Linked DNA regions of Homo sapiens: region 2 is linked to region 1. Evidence: promoter capture Hi-C in human tissues and cell types (Jung and others, 2019). All regions are on one chromosome and are shown on one strand. The core of a region is centred on a gene start or on the middle of the fragment in contact, and the rest is flanking DNA. Distances in the headings are between cores, read along the strand shown.

What was found. Contacts are between HindIII fragments. The study calls those that stand out against the background at their distance.
Region 2: a fragment that was not itself captured here is called in contact with the fragment with the promoter of MB21D2 in region 1 in 1 of the 25 tissues and cell types used here (dorsolateral prefrontal cortex).

What each region holds. Positions count from the first base shown.
Region 1 is chr3:192,916,590-192,919,289 of GRCh38, reverse strand. It overlaps MB21D2 (Mab-21 domain containing 2), which reads left to right and starts at 1,434. Exons shown (of 2, transcript NM_178496.4): 1 at 1,434-1,660. The coding sequence starts at 1,450. RefSeq lists a silencer at 1,129-1,488 and an enhancer at 2,139-2,468. The HindIII fragment of the contact is 14,649 bases long and covers 1-2,700 here.
Region 2 is chr3:194,311,764-194,314,463 of GRCh38, reverse strand. It overlaps LINC00887 (long intergenic non-protein coding RNA 887), which reads left to right and starts at 1,660. Exons shown (of 3, transcript NR_024480.1): 1 at 1,660-1,863. The HindIII fragment of the contact is 5,116 bases long and covers 1-2,700 here.

The DNA of each region.
Region 1 (2,700 bases), core at 185-2,684:
ATTATTCCCATTTTATAGGGGAAGGCATGGAAGAGTCCGTACTTCCTTCCATGTCTAACAAAACAATTTGTATTCTTGGCCATGAGAACTCGGGTAAGAAAGTGAAACAGACCTGATCTAAATCAGGGACTGTGGGATAGAGAAGAGAGATTTTGGAGAATTAGGGAGGAAGATAACCTATGTTTCTCACAGCCAATGGGCCTCCTAAGTGTTTGAATGATACACCCCATAAACACTAAAACCACCTCTGAGACTCTATTCTGCCTAAAGGACTATGACTTAGATTGAACCTGCCTTGTCATGTAAGCCTAACTCCATGGTAGGAGCCATGTCTTTTGGTTATCACTGTCACATTCTGTCACTCCATCTGGCAAATGGTGCGTACTCAAATTTTATCTGTTGAATGAGAAAATTTTCATCTTGTCATCCAACATTTCTTGGAACCTGGGGCAATACATTGTTTCCCCTCTCCCACACCCACACTTCAGTTTCCCTATCTTTATATTAGAGTAGGTTGAATCTCATTAACTCATTATATGTTAAGATAAATAAGCTGTTATTCAGGTCATTAATTACCTTGGGCAAAGGTAGGGATATCTAGGGGTTAGTGGGAGTGCCAATACTGGGTTAGATGTGGACCCTCTTTTTTTATACGCTCAATCCTATCATCTTGGCAATCCAAGAGGAAAAGGGTAGAAGACAGGTTTCATATTCCTTAAGGCAGTTTCCTTTACTATTTAAAGGTATTGGAGTTCTTGGGATAGAGAGGTAAACGCGCACAGAGATGTCCTCCCCCAGGACACCGCCCTTAAAATCAAACGGAGGAAGACTTTCTTCTCCTTGAATGCGCTTGGCAAACCCTGCCCAGAAAGGGGATGGGGGGACGGCCGTGGAGGTGGAGAAAGAATGCATCCACACCTCGCGCGTCTTCCCAAGTACGGATTGGCAAGTGGTATATGCGTGCAGACCTCTGTCATTTATTTATTTTCCTTTCCACTGGGTGCGCTGTCCCTTTAAATGGAGACGCTGGTGCTGGCTCCGTAACACCGGAGCCGGCAGCTTGTTGATTTCAGAGCTGGTGAATTTCACATTGTTTCCACTTCACTTTCCTCGCCCGGGGGAGGCTCCAGTTGGCTCTACGACCGCCGTTGCCGCTGCCAGAGAGGGCCAGGGCAGGGCAGGGACGCGCAGCATCGGGGCGGGCGTGGGGCCGGAGAAAAGGGTGTCGGGGCCACACACGCACCCTCGCTGCAGTCCAGCTCCTCCCGAAGCTCGCACGCCCAGAGCGCACGGAGCGGGGGACTGCCCGCCCAGACGCCCGCCCGCCAACCCGCCCACGAGCCGGGGCCAAAGCCTGGGAGCCTGCGAGGGGAGGAGGCCCAGGGGGGCGGGGTGGGGGGCGGGGGTGGGTGCCGCGCTGCCGCGGAGCTGCTACTCGGCGCGTTTTGCATGAAGATGGCGGCTCCCACCGCCAACAAGGCAGCCTCCCTGGGCTGTAACAACAAGCCTGCGTTCCCGGAGCTGGATTTCAGGTCGGGAGCTCGGGTGGAGGAATTGAACAAACTCATCCAAGAATTTACGAAGCACGACCAGCGGGAATACGACGACCAGAGAGCGCTGGAGATTCACACAGCCAAGGATTTCATCTTTTCCATGCTGGGTAAGGAGGAAAAAGGGGGAGGTGTGTGTGCGTGTGTGTGTGTGATGGGAAGCGGAGTAGAAAACCCATTGCCGCTTCTCGACCTCTTCCCTTCTGGGTTGCCTTCCCGAGCCGGTGCCTTGGGTATAAGCCATCTCTGTTCCGCCTCTCTCTTCTTTCTCCGCCGAAAGCCGAGCTGCCTGCCCTCCCCTCCTTACTATACTTTACGCCGGGTCTCCCTTTCCCCCTGTTCGCTTGCTCTTTTGTTAATTTCTCCGCCACCTGGGGCTGGCAGGCAGGTGAGGCGTTCGCGGTGAAGCGTTGCACTGTTGGGGGAAGCCCCTGGAAGCGAGTGCAGTCCAGGTGAGCCCCTGAGGTGCCTTCAGTTGAGGGATTTGGCTGCCGGAGGCAGGGACCTCCGCTTTCCCGACGCCGGCTCTTGGGTGCTCTCCCGAGCTTGGGAGCGGAGACGGCTCAGGGCTCTGGCTTGGCGCCCGAGCGACAAGTTGCTTCTGTCGTCTCGCGGCGCGGCGCTGTCATGCCGAGCCCCCGGTGGCCAAACTTGTTGGGTGTTCCCGAGTAACCCGCTGAAGTAGTCTAGGCGTCCGGAGTTCCTGCAACTTTGATTTGCAAATTGACTTCTCTTATGAAGCGATCGGAAGCATTTCCGGTGCTTCTTCAGGGCTCTCGCTGAGCTCGGAATTCTTAATTCCCAGCTCTTCCGTGACTAGGCGCGGAGCTCTGGCCGCAGAGGAGCGCCGGTTCCCTGCTCTTTGTGTATTGTCTTAGCGCTGGCCGAAAGAGGTGCCCAGAGTTTCCAACCGCGGAGACGTCGGGGGCTAGAAAATGTGTCCCCCACTCCCACCTCCAGCCCCTCACCTACGGCTCCTGAAACATGATTGAATGCTGTGTAAAGGAACATAATTGAGCCAGGCCCGGGAGACCGAGCCCACCCTCCCCAGGTGTCCTGCCGTTGGGATTATTGCTACTGAGGTGTAGTGTGAGTTTGCCAGGCGCCTGGGTTGTAACTTGCGGCTCCGCCAGCGGATCCGTGGCTGTCA
Region 2 (2,700 bases), core at 5-2,504, 1.4 Mb before region 1:
ATAATTCTAAGATGGGAAGAGATGTTGCTGGGGAGAAGAGGCGGAGGCTTCTCTTCTGATTCCTGCCTGGAGCCCTGACTGCAAGGGTTGCTCCTGGCTTCCCCCATTTGAACCCCACCCCTGGCTGGCCAGTGAGGGGAGCATTCCCTACAGCCCCAGGGAGGGAGAGGCTGCCAGCGGCCAGACAGGGCATTGGGCAGATGGCACAGAGCCAGCCCAGCCAGGTGGGGAAATTGAGACCCAGAGAGGGTAAGGGACTTGCTCAAGGTCACACAACCAGACCCTGGCAGATCCCTTTCCACGCTAATTCCTCAGAAGCTCCTGCTGGGGTCTCTAGTGGGATACTTTGGACAGCCCTGTGGGAGTGGCGGCTGGGTTCCACCGGGAGTGGGGTTACTTTGAAGAACAGTAGTCTCTCCTTGAATCCAGATGAGCAGATACGGTTCCAGGGCTCAGCCTGACCCTGAGGCTGTCACAGCTGGGGCAGGGGCTGAGGGTGGAAACTGCCTCTAAGAGCTCAGAGGGCGTTTAGCCTGCCAGGCACAGAGCCTCCACCGGGGACAGAAAGCCAGGAAAAAGGTGTGGGACGTCAGTACGAATCCTGCTCCTTCCATCGTAGACTCTGAAAGTAAAGGTCCAAGCTTTGAATTGGATCTCAGCTGGGGCTGGGGGCTGGCCAAGAAGATTGGGGTGGCCACACATTTGGGCAAGTTTCCCTACTGCCTCCGCAATGCGCCTGGCCAGGGCCCAACTGGAAATCAGAGACCCATGAAACATCAGCTCAGGGAGCATCAGGGATGCATGCTCGTGCTTCAAGAGGAAGAAACCCCGAGAGGAGGCTGGGAGAGAGACTGGTCCAAGGTCACTGGACAGTGAGTGGTGGAGCTGGAGCTTGGACGTGGGCTCTGGACTCTGGATTGTGTGTCCCCGCCACTGTCCTGACATCCATGTGGACAGATGCCCTGATCCCCCTCTGCAGGGGCTGTTCTCTTTTCCTCTCTTTGGGGTGTATAATGTGTTTGTCTTTGTGTGTGTGTGTGTGTGTGTGTGTGTGTGTGTGTGTGTGTGTGTGTAGACATTTTTTATTTTGTCTCTTTACCTCCAAATCCTATCTGCTTCATAAAACTCAGAGAAAAAGTCTATAAGCTCAGTCACCCATTCCAGGATCGCTGTCAGGAAATCCTCGTTCCCATCTCACCCGCATCCCCCACGCTGGAGCTTAAGTCCTTCCAGGTGGGGCTGGCAAGAGTCTGCGGGACTTACTCCAAGAGCCCCGGGGAAGCGGGCTGGGCTGTTTGGGGAGGAATGCTCACCCGGCAGTGTGCAGGCCTGGCAGGGCTGCCTCTAAACCCAAATTGCAGTCCCCAAGCACGTGCGCTTGCTCTGCCTGAGATCTCCAATGATGCTGCTTTGGCGGGAGTACTGATTCTAGCCAGTGATTTATCATCTGTTTACTCAGAGAAACTGCTTGTTCATTTCTGCTGGTGGGAAGGGAAGGAGGGAGGGAGGGAGGTGAACGTGTGTCCTGTGAGCTGCAGAGGTAGCCGGCAGGGATGACTTATACACTCCCCTCGATGGGTGACCTCCATTCACTCTTCCTCCCCGCCTCTCCGCCTGATGAGAAACAGAATGTGCTCCCTCCCCCCTGGGAGGCTTCAGATTCATTTTCTGCTCAGACACCGTTGCTTGCAAAATTCCACCCAGAAGATAAGGGAGGGAGTATCGCTGCAGCGTCCTGCTCTGTGCCTGGTTATATTACTGGATCCTTGTGTTGCAGCCCTAAGATAGAAGGATTGTCTCCATTTCACAGATGAGAGAGAACTGATGCGCAGGAGGCTGAAATTGTCTGAAGTCACACAGCAGGTGGGTAGAGCTGGGACCCAACCCCCGTCAGGCTGGTGCCAACTTCATGCTCTTGGAGCAGTGTTTCTCCAAGTGTGCATCTCGAACCACCTGCATTAATTATAGTTACTTCTTCCTTCAGTCTCTGTTGTTTTCAACAGGGAGTTACTGACCTAGGCATGGCTCCAGGCTCATGGGATTCAGCAATGAGGAAGACAGGTCCTGGCCAAAGGAGGCCAAGAACAAACAAGTATAAGCAATAAGTCAGCCGGGTGCTGTGGCTCATGCTTGTAATCCCAACACTTTGGGAGTCTGAGGTGGAAGGATCACTTGAGCCCAGGAGTTCGAGACCAGCCTGGGCAACATGGTGAAACCACATCTCTACCAAAATATACAAAAATTAGCTGAGTGTGGTGGTGCACCTGTAGCCCCAACTGCTTGAGAGCCTGAGGTAGGAGGATTGTCTTAGCCCAGGAGGTTGACACTGCAGTGAGCCGTAATTGTGCCACTGCACTCCAGCCTGGGCGACAGAGAGAGACCCTGTCTCAAAAAAAAAAAAATTAAAAAGAAACAAGTCAATATCTAACAGGTGAGAGCACTAGGGGGAAAAGGAGAGCAGGGTGAGGTGCTGGGGAGTGACGAGGTTGTATGTGTGTTGCAATTTTAGATAGAGTGGTCAGGATAAACCTTACACAGGTGACATTTGGACTGAGACTTCAAAGAGGTTAAGTGTTTTGCTATTGAACCTGTATTTCCTGCACCTGCTTCAGACCTCCTCATTCAGAACCTGGCAGGGAAATGAGGCCCAGGAATACGTATTTTAACAAATCCTTTATCCACACCGCAATTTGGAAATCG